2 separate regions of the Homo sapiens genome follow, and region 1 is linked to region 2. Evidence: promoter capture Hi-C in 16 types of primary human blood cells and fetal thymus (Javierre and others, 2016). All regions are on one chromosome and are shown on one strand. Each heading gives the region's core, a stretch centred on a gene start or on the middle of the fragment in contact. The rest is flanking DNA. Distances are from core to core; before and after follow the strand shown. Region 1 has its middle 30 kb from the start of TMEM14A. Region 2 holds the start of LINCMD1 (long intergenic non-protein coding RNA, muscle differentiation 1).

Region 1 (4,984 bases), core at 449-2,948, 550 kb after region 2:
TAAGTTGTTGAACCCATGCTGTCGTTTTCTGGATCTTACGAAAGCAAGGAAGTTTTTATATAAAACCAAAGCAAAGGGTTTACTGAACTCAGTTGATTGAGAAATATCTATAGTCTACTATTGTGCAGATATAACTTGCCTGGTAAACTTTTCAGCCGCAATTTGAATGCAGGCTACTCCCCTTAATTGGCTCAGATAAGTTACTCTCTTCTAATTTCAGTTTCCTAACATGTGAAATGAAGCTAATACCTACTGGTGGTGCTGTCATGATGGTTAAATGACATGATGTATAGTAAAGACTAACTCCCATCTTGGCTCAGTATTTGACCTTTGTTATTTTTTTTCTCATAACTTTCCCTTGGGTGGTGTTTGTTACCCCTTATTCCTAGTGCTAAAGAACAGGCAAATATTTGATTGTCTCATTACATACCTTCTCTTTAAGCCAAAGAGGCTTAGACATAGGAATTAAGTTGCAGCTAATCTTAGAAGTTACTTGGTAACAATCTAATAATAAAACAAAATTAACTTAAAAGATCCTTTGTTGCATATTTAAAGAAACATAAATCAAGCTATCTTTTCTTACCACTCACAAGAGTTTTTAATCAGTGTTATTGTTAGATTGTTACCAATTAACTTCTGGATACTTTCGCTTTAAAATACATTTACCAATTAAATGTGTGCATTTTGTATAGCATAATTTTAACATAAAATTGAAATACAATTAGTTTTCCTGTATTATTAATATTTTCTAGCATAGAGATGTAAAAACCCAACAAAAACTGGAAAATATTATTTTTCCCAGATTGTATTCTATCCGTTTTACAATAAAAAATAATTTGAAATGTTAAATTTTACAATTTGGAGTAATAAAAAATATTCAGAGAAGATGCTAATACATAGCTTCCTGGTCATAATTCCTAAGTACTTAATGTTAAATAGTGTTAAACCTTGATGTCCTATCACTCTCATTCCTATACCTGAAGACCAGCATTAACTTCAACTCTCAAACACAAGAGTAAGAGACATTTCAGTCTCAGGGAATTCTGCCATTTTTATAAGACAAAGAAGATGGATGTAAAGCTCTCTTCCCCTTATTTATTTAAAAATATTTTCAATATTATTGCAGAAGTGCTAAAACTCATTGTAGAAAAATTAGAAAATACGGATAAAAATTTTCAGCCACCCATATTGGCCTTTCTCTAAAAATGAGCAGATGTTTAGTAGACATATTATTTTCCTTATGACTATGTCTTAATGAACAGAAATGTGGCATTCAGAAGTAGAAATTGGATGCTTACTAAATTTAAAAATAATCTGTATGCAAGGGTAGAGTGTGAGTGTGAATATGGGGAGGGAGTTCGTCTTTATCCCCTCTGCTCTTTGTTTTTGCAAAATAAGTTCTCTCTGGGTCTGCTTTACAATCCCCAGTACTAGATGTTTTCTCTTCACTACCTTCGATGCTCCAAAACACTTCCATGTTTCAGAGAGTTGGTGGGTCTCTTTCTCTCTCTCATATTTTCACCAGGAAAAAAGGAAAGGCAGCAGCTGACATTATAATATTGGAGCTCTTCTTAACCAAAGCTTCCTTTGGATGCTTAGGAAGCCTAGAGAGGTCAAGTGACTTGCCTAAAGTCTTTCAGCTAAATGGTAGAAGAACCAGAGCTAGGTTGCCCTCTCACCAAGCCTACTACATCTTCAATATTATCATCTTGGTAAATGTGTAATTTTATGTAAATAATTATTATAAAAGGAAGTCATCATATTCCAAAGTTAACAAATATGAGAATATGGACAGTGATTACCAAGGTATAAAACAAAGCTTTCCAAAAAGCAGCATTTTTTTCCTAAACATGCTTTACTTTACTTATTTTTTCCTAAGCACTATTTACTTACAACTTACAATATTTATGAAGTGTGATGAAAAATGCATACATTTGTGATTTCAGTTTCTCCTACAATTTTTCATGTCAGGAACTCTGAGGTAACTTAGGCTATCTGATCCGGCGAGTCTCCAAGAATCAGAGAGGCAGAGCTCAATCTCCAATTCCAACAAGGGCTTTACCAGGGTAAGCCCTGAGAGGAGGTGGGCAGACCGCGGGAGGGTGGCAGGTTGGAGGGAGAGGTAGGGTTGTGGGAAATAGGAGGCAGTCCAGCCTGCTGGCATTCACAGTTCTAGGTCTGGACATGAAACTATATGGGGTACATCCAGATTTCTCAGACTAGATACTATCTGAAGAATTTTCTGCTACGTTTTGATTGAGTTTCGCCGGATCACACCAAAGAGGTTTCGCTCCTGAACTTTTAAAAATCTTCAATTTTATCTTTTGCTTAAAGGCTAATTGTGTGAGGAGCTGTGTTAGGTACAGCAGGGGCTCCAAAGACAAGCAAAGCACAGCCATTTCAGCAAAATTGTAAATCTTAGAGCATAATTATTAAACTTTTGAAAATTTACTCTGACTCATAACACAAGGAAATTTCAGGCACAGGAGGTGGCTATTGGCTACGGTCATGTGCTACATAATATTTCAGTCAACCATGGACTGCTTATACAATGAGATTATAATACTATATTTTTACTGTAACTTTTCTATGTTTAGATACACAAATACTTTTTTTTTTTTTGAGACACAGTTTCACTCTTGTTGCCCAGGCTGGAGTGCAATGGCATGATCTTGGCTCACTGCAACCTCCGCCTCTCGGGTTCAAGCAATTCTCCTGCCTCAGCCTCCCAAGTAACTGAGATTACAGGAATGCGCCATCATGCCCAGCTAATTTTGTATTTTTAGTAGAGACAGGGTTTCTCCATGTTGGTCAGGCTGGTCTCAAACTCCCAAACTCAGGTGATCCACCCACCTCAACCTCCCAAAGTCCTGGAATTACAGGTGTGAGCCACCTCAACCGGCCTCACAAATACTTATTATTGCATTACAGTTTCCTACAGTATTCACTACAGTAACATGCTGTTCAGGTTTGTAGCCTAATAGTAATAGACTGTACCATAAAGCCCAGGTGTGTAGCAGTCTTTACATCCGGGTTTGGGAGAATAACCTCTATGTTGCTCACATGACAAAATTACCTAATTATATATTTCTCAGAATGTATCCCATTGTTAAGTAATGCATGACTGTCTAGAATTTCCATCTAACTCTGACAAACCATAATAATACCAACCCTAAGTCTAAAAAATGGTGAGGAATCAGAAGATCCAATAAAGAGCTTCATATAGCTCAGAAAAGAGAATTGGCCTTTTATTGTTTTGTAAAAATTAGGTCATCAGAAGAAGCAATGACAAATTCAGCTTTTTAAAAAATTACACTAAAAATATTTAATGCCCTCCAAAGATACTGGAGTGTTTTTGATAGGTAGGCTTTGGATTCACATTGTCTTCTGTGCATGTTTTATCATATTTTATTCTGATCTAATTCTAATGCAACAATACCTAAACATTGAAATTTTGAAAACAATTATAAAGGAATGAACCGGAGTCTTCCTCCACCCCCTCTCTTTCTCCCTCGGTCTCATCATTTGTCCATCTGTCATCTATCCATCTCAAAAAGGACAAATTGCAAAAACATAATATTGATTGTAAAGAGGAAAATACAGAATAGTACACAAAAGGAGCCGTTTATGTAAATTATTTCCAAAGGTCCACAAGTCAGAGGTTGGTGAGCCCACATAGTAAGTGCAAAAATATAAAGACTGGACTGACTGGATAGAAGTTGCTTAAGTGGAGATGGAGGTGATGGTTCTATTAAATTTTAGACTTATTTGTTAGTATTTTATATTTTAAACAAGATTATATTAATATATTAACTGTGGAGTTTCTTTCTTGTTAGAGACAGAGTCTTGCTCTGTTGCTCAGGCTCGAGTGCAGTGGCACGATCATACCCCAATGCAACCTCAAACTTCTAGGCTCAAGCAATCCACCTGCCTCAGCCTCCTGATTAGCCAGGTCTACAGGCATGTGCCATCATGCCCAGCTAATTTTTAAAATTTTTATGTGGAGACGGGGTCTTGCTATGTTTCCCATGCTGGTCTCCAACTCTTGGCCTCAAGGAATCCTCCTTCCTTGGCCTCCCAAAGTGCTGGGATTACAGGTGCCTACCACCACACACAATTCTGTCTGTGTTTTTAAAAAATATATATTGAAGGTAAACATGACAAAATATTAATAATTACTCAAACCAGGTAGTGAGATCATGTTTGTTTATTGCAATATTCTTTGTACTTTTCTTTGTGTACTTTCAAAAATTTCATTTAAGACTTAAAAATTCAAACCAAAAGATTAGAAAAAAAATGGTGATGAACCTTTTACAAAGATTTTTTTTGCATTATTGTAGCACTATCAGATTACATAAAATTGTACATTTCACAAAATATTTAAATATAAACCATGTTCTGGGCTGCATTCATATAAAGTATCTCCATTTCTAGAGAACAAATGAACTTAGTGCCTTCTGTCAGGGGTAAAACAGTGTATAGAACATTTTAGTGAATATCAAGTCACCGGGGTTACTTGCTGTCCCCATGTTAAACCACAGTGGAGCTGGACACAGGCTTAAAGAAAATTCCCTGCTCCTTCATCTTTGAATCTAAGAGACCATTTTGGAATGACTACAGAAATTTTTTTGAATGGGTTACAGAAGAGGCTGATTCCTTATATTTACAATTAATATGCATATAGAAAAAGATTTATTTTTGAAAGGTCTTTATGAACTTCAATAGCTTAGCTTTTAAGTATGTTGAGAACAGAGTTTTTAAAAATCCATTAAAAAATAGGAGACATATTTTTGGCAGTGAAAGATAATGCTCTTGTGTCAGTACCTACAAGATTGTTCTATACTTTTAAAGAAAATGATCTGTTTCTTATTATTCTTGAGACAAATGTAGTTAAATGAATGCAACACCTGGATGGTAAGAATGAAGTGAGAAGAAGCAGAGTTGCTTCCTTCCTTCCTTCCTTCCTCCTTCCTTCCCTCCCTTC
Region 2 (4,828 bases), core at 721-3,220:
TTCAACTGCAACTGAAATTACCTACTAAAACTTTCCTTGAGAAAACAATTCTGGTTTTTTCACCATATTCTTATGCTCCCAGGAAGGAAGAGAAGAGGAGTCCTGGAGTCAAAAGTGAGCAAGATTTTAATGCTCAACACACACTGTTCTGTGCCTTTGCACTCACAGCTGCAGCCACTTACATGCTTTTGACAGACACACAGTCAAGAAAGAGTTTGAGGATGGAGTTTGTGCCAACCCTAAGCCAGCCAGGGGAAGAGCATGAGACATAGAAGACAGGGCTCCTGCTCACTAGGGGCTAACAGTCTAAGGAAAGAAATTAGACATGTATATATGGTGTGATCCAATTGAATTGCAAGTTATAGCATGGCTAGTTCCAAGGCATAATTCTTACCTATCCCACCAAATATGCCTAGCACATTATGTATCATCAAGTCTCTATTGATCTATTCAGCCCAAGATATCTATTCACTAAGCAATCATTTCTCAGTTCCCTGATCTGTAGAATAGGGATAATAGTACCTGTCACACCAGGCACAGTGGCTTATGCCTAAAATCTCAGCATTTGGGGTGGCTAAGACAGGGGATTGCTTGAGGCCAGGAGTTCCAGATCAGCCTGGTCAACATAGCAAGATGCTGTTTCTACCAAAAAAAAATTTTTTTTGTTTTAATTAGCTGAATGCGGTAGTGCACACCTATAGTCCTAGCTACTTGGGAGGCTGAGGCAGGAAGATCACTTAAGTCCAGGAGATGGAGGCTGTAATGAGCTAAGTTCTCATAATCGCTACCTTTTACTAAGGGAGAATTCTGACCTGTCCTTCCAGTTTATCTTTTAAGATTTGTATCTTTTATGGTGTGTGTCTGGAACTTAGACAGTAATAAGTAAATATTTGGGTTTAAAATTCTATAGACATGTGTGTTCACATGCTGTATTCTGACACAAATGGGGTAGCATAAGTGCCTAGAGCCCACCACAGTGACCTCAGAGGAGAACACAGAGCTTACTAGCACAAATCTTTGCATTCAGGAAGACCTGGGGTTGAATGCTGCCCCTCTAATTTATTAGCTGTGATATATCCTCTCCGCAGCTCAATTAACATTGCACAAGCCTTAGTTTACTCATCTGTAAAATGGGGACAATGATACCAACCTCAGTTACCGTAAGGCTTAAAACAGACAGTGTTAATAAAGAGCCAAATATAAGCCCTTAAGAAATAGTAGCTGTTGTTTTACTGCTGTAAATGGCAACAGCACAAGGACAATGCTGTGTCCACAGGCACTTGTATGTAGAAGGAAAGAGCCAAATTAAAAAAAAAATAGGAGAAGAACTCAAAAAATACATAAAGGCTCATTGCTCACTGTAGGGTTTTGTTTTTTGTTGTTGTTGTTTTGTTTTTGTTTTTGTTTATTTTTTGAGACAGGGTCTCACTCTGTTGCCCAGATAGGAGTGCAGTGGCACGATTTCAGCTCACTGCAACCTCCGCCTCCCAGGCTCAAGCGATTCTCCTGCCTCAGCCTCCCAAGCAGCTGAGATTACAGGCACGCACCACTACCACCCGACTAAGTTTTATATTTTTAGTAGAGACAGGGTTTCACCATGTTGGCCAGGCTGGTCTTGAACTCCTGACCTCAAGTGATCCGCCCGCCTTGGCCTCCCAAAGTGCTGGGATTACAAATGTGAGCCACCGTGCCCAGCCTATAGGGTATTTTTATATTCCAACTATTAATTCTACTAGCATGTAGCATACATGCATTCACCCTAGTACATATGACTAGCATATAATATGCTTTACTTTTAAAAAATGCTTTATACATGAGACTGATCTTACCATCTTCAATATCCTGTCTGGAAAGCCTTCATTTGTGAGTGCTGTTGAGATCACATGTCCTCCCAAGTAGGACATGGAGTGTGAAGGCCATTGAGTGGGTGTTCCAAAGGGCAGCACAGAATGGAGTTTAGTTGAAGGTGCTGGGGACACACTACCTGGGCTCAAGTCCCAGCTCCCCACTCTCCAGCTGTGCCACTTGAGCAAGTTGCTTGACCTCTCCAGGCCTGGGTTTCCTCATCTGTAAAGTAGGAATATTGATAATAATATCTACTTCATAGAGTTTCATGAGAATACATGTAAAGGCCTGAAACCAGTATTGGGTACATAATAATACATTCTTAAGAGTCTTTATTTCTGACAATGTACCTGAAATGTTCCTGAAATTAAGTTGGTGTTCAATAAAAACATGTTCACTGAAAGATCAGCTTCTTTGTTTATTTTAAGCACAAACTATGGGATCATGTAATTTTTGGTTCAACTATTTCTACTTATCTCTTTCAATGCAGCACACTGGTTCAAAGCAGTAGTAAGGTGTGGGGGAAGGATGGCAACAAGCTTCTCTCTGCTTCCCAGGTCTGTGATGAAATGGAACTTCCCTGCGAACTAGGGGTATGCCTCTGGGAGTAGAAGCAGGGTGATCTTGAAGCGCAGTCGCAGAGCTGTCACCCGGAAGTCACCTGGCAGAACAGAAAACAAACATGATGTGGCCAAATACCAGCTGTCCTTAACAGGAGGGATCTTTTCCATCTGGAAGGGCAGAGGTCATGTAGGTAAAGATTAGATAACAATGCCAGGTATAGGTAAAAGGAGTGTTAAAAAAGGGTCACTTTCATATTTGGGATATTATGGCTAAAATGCCTGATAAAACTGGACAAGACATATAAGGCTAAGACTAAATAATGTCTTCTCTCTGTTAGAAAGAAGCCAGCCAGGCCAGGCATGAGGGTTCTTGTCTATAAATCCCAGCACTTTGGGAGGCCAACGCTGGCGGATCTCTTGAGCTCAGGAGTTCAAGACCAGCCTGAGCAAAACTCCATCTCTACAAAAAATACCAAAAATTAGCTGGGCACAGGGATGGGGACGCTGAGGTGGGAGGATCGCTTGAGCCCAGGAGTTTGATTGAGGCTGCAGTGAGCTGCGATGGCACCACTGCACTCCAGCCTGGGTGACAGAGTGAGACCCTGTCTCAAAAACAAAAGAAAAAAAAAGAAGGAAAGAAGAGGGAGGGAGGTAGAGAGGGAGGGAAGGAGTGAGAGAGGGAGGGAAGGAAGGAAGGAAGTTAAGAAGGGAGAGAGGGAGGGAGGGAGAGAAAGAAGGTAAAGGAAAGGAAGGAAGGAGAGAGAAAGGAATAAAGAAAAAGAAAAGGAGAGGAGGGGAGGAGAGGGAAGGGGAGCAAGCTAGCACACTTCTGGCAAGGGTTGGAGAACATGAGTGAACATTGTCATCCAACTTTCTACCTATCCCCTTGCCCTCAAGGGTCTTTGCAGAACACATCTTTGAGGGCCACAGGATGGAAGGAGTTCTAGTCATAGCCTGCCTCCAAAGTCAAAATATCGTACTGTCCCCTCTTATTCACTCCTGGAGAATTCAACTTCCATTCACATTTCTGTTTGATTTTCCTTAAACCAGGAGGGGAGCAAATGTATTCCTGCTCCCACTCACCACTATAAAAAGACAGAACCTTTAAGAAAACATGTTTTCTGGTAAGTTTGAATGACCTTGATATCCATGTTCAAAGGTCCCACAAGCCCAAACTCTCCATTTCCGTAAGAAATCAAGAGGAATCAGAGAATGGGGACTGCTGCCCACGGGTTGCGGTTGCTCATCCTGCCACAGCCCCTCTTCAGGGCAGAAATCTAGGTTAGGCCACCCAGTGGGGTGTGTGGTTTTGTGATTGCTGCTGTGTCCCTTTATGTGTGTTCCTGTATCATCATCAGTCCTGTGCCAGTAAGTGGCAGCCCATGATGTCACACCGGTCAAACATGACGACTCTTGGTCACCCTCAGAATGGACCCCACCCCCACATCTGGTGAGTGTTGGGAGGAAGAAAGTGATAGCACAGGCGTGCTGAAGGAGCTCTTCCCCGGAAGGAGTTGACGGAAAATAGTGCGGGGCTATCTAACTGGCAGGAATCCAGACAAACAAGAAAATCCCATTAGTGCAGTCCATCAACGAGTTTCTTTCTGATGGTAATTCCCAGGGCTGGCAAGACTGTTAGAAAACAGCAGCTCATACATAGCTGGGAGTGAATATAGGTCTATACTCTTCAAAGCATCATTTATCAATACATAGGCATCAAGAAGGCTATTATCTTCTCTGCCCAGAATCTTCTCTTTCTCTGTTAACAGCTCAGTCTCCCTCCCTTGGCTATTCTTTTTTTTTTTTTTTTTTTTTTGAGATGGAGTCTTGCTCCATTGCCAGGCTGGAGCGCAGTGGTGCAATCTCAGTTCACTGCAACCTCTGCCTCCTGGGTTCAAGTGATTCTCCTGCCTCAGCCTCCCAAGTAGCTGGGACTACAAGCACCCACCACCACGCCTGGCTAATTTTTGTATTTTTAGTAGAGACGGGGTTTCACTATGTTGGCCAGGATTGTCTCAATCTCTTGACCTCATGATCCACCCGTCTTGCCCTCCCAAAGTCCTGGGATTACAGGCGTGAGCCACTGCACCCAGCCCCCTTGGCTATTCTTAAAATTACCTCTCCCTCCCTCCATTCACCATGCTTCCCCAAGAACCTTTACAACCATGCACCTTTCTCTAACTTAAGCCATCCTAGTGAGCCCTTTCATGGGAGTTTGGATTATTGGTCTATAAAAATTAAAGCTGTGTTTCCTTGGAAAGTTAAAATAGAAAGATGTGAAGCTTCAAAATTATTCCCAGTATTTCTCAGTAGTGCTTAGTAAGAGATAAGAATGAACCAATTACTTAAAAAGAAACCAAAGAGAGAACAGATACAGAGCCCCAGAGGTATTTCAGTCCTGGACGTGGTTGTTCCCAAGG

What was found. Contacts are between HindIII fragments. The CHiCAGO score rates a contact against its expected background, and 5 or more counts as called.
Region 1: a fragment that was not itself captured here is called in contact with the fragment with the promoter of LINCMD1 in region 2 in 7 of 17 cell types (non-activated CD4 T cells, naive CD4 T cells, naive CD8 T cells and 4 more); the score reaches 6.5 in non-activated CD4 T cells.

Annotation. Positions count from the first base shown.
Region 1 is chr6:52,698,481-52,703,464 of GRCh38, forward strand. No RefSeq gene overlaps it. Among named protein-coding and RNA genes, the nearest start is that of TMEM14A, 30 kb to the left of the region's middle. The HindIII fragment of the contact is 238 bases long and covers 1,580-1,817 here.
Region 2 is chr6:52,149,053-52,153,880 of GRCh38, forward strand. LINCMD1 (long intergenic non-protein coding RNA, muscle differentiation 1) reads right to left here and starts at 1,971. Exons shown (of 3, transcript NR_131248.1): 1 at 1,830-1,971. RefSeq lists an enhancer at 3,799-4,093. The HindIII fragment of the contact is 4,773 bases long and covers 1-2,382 here.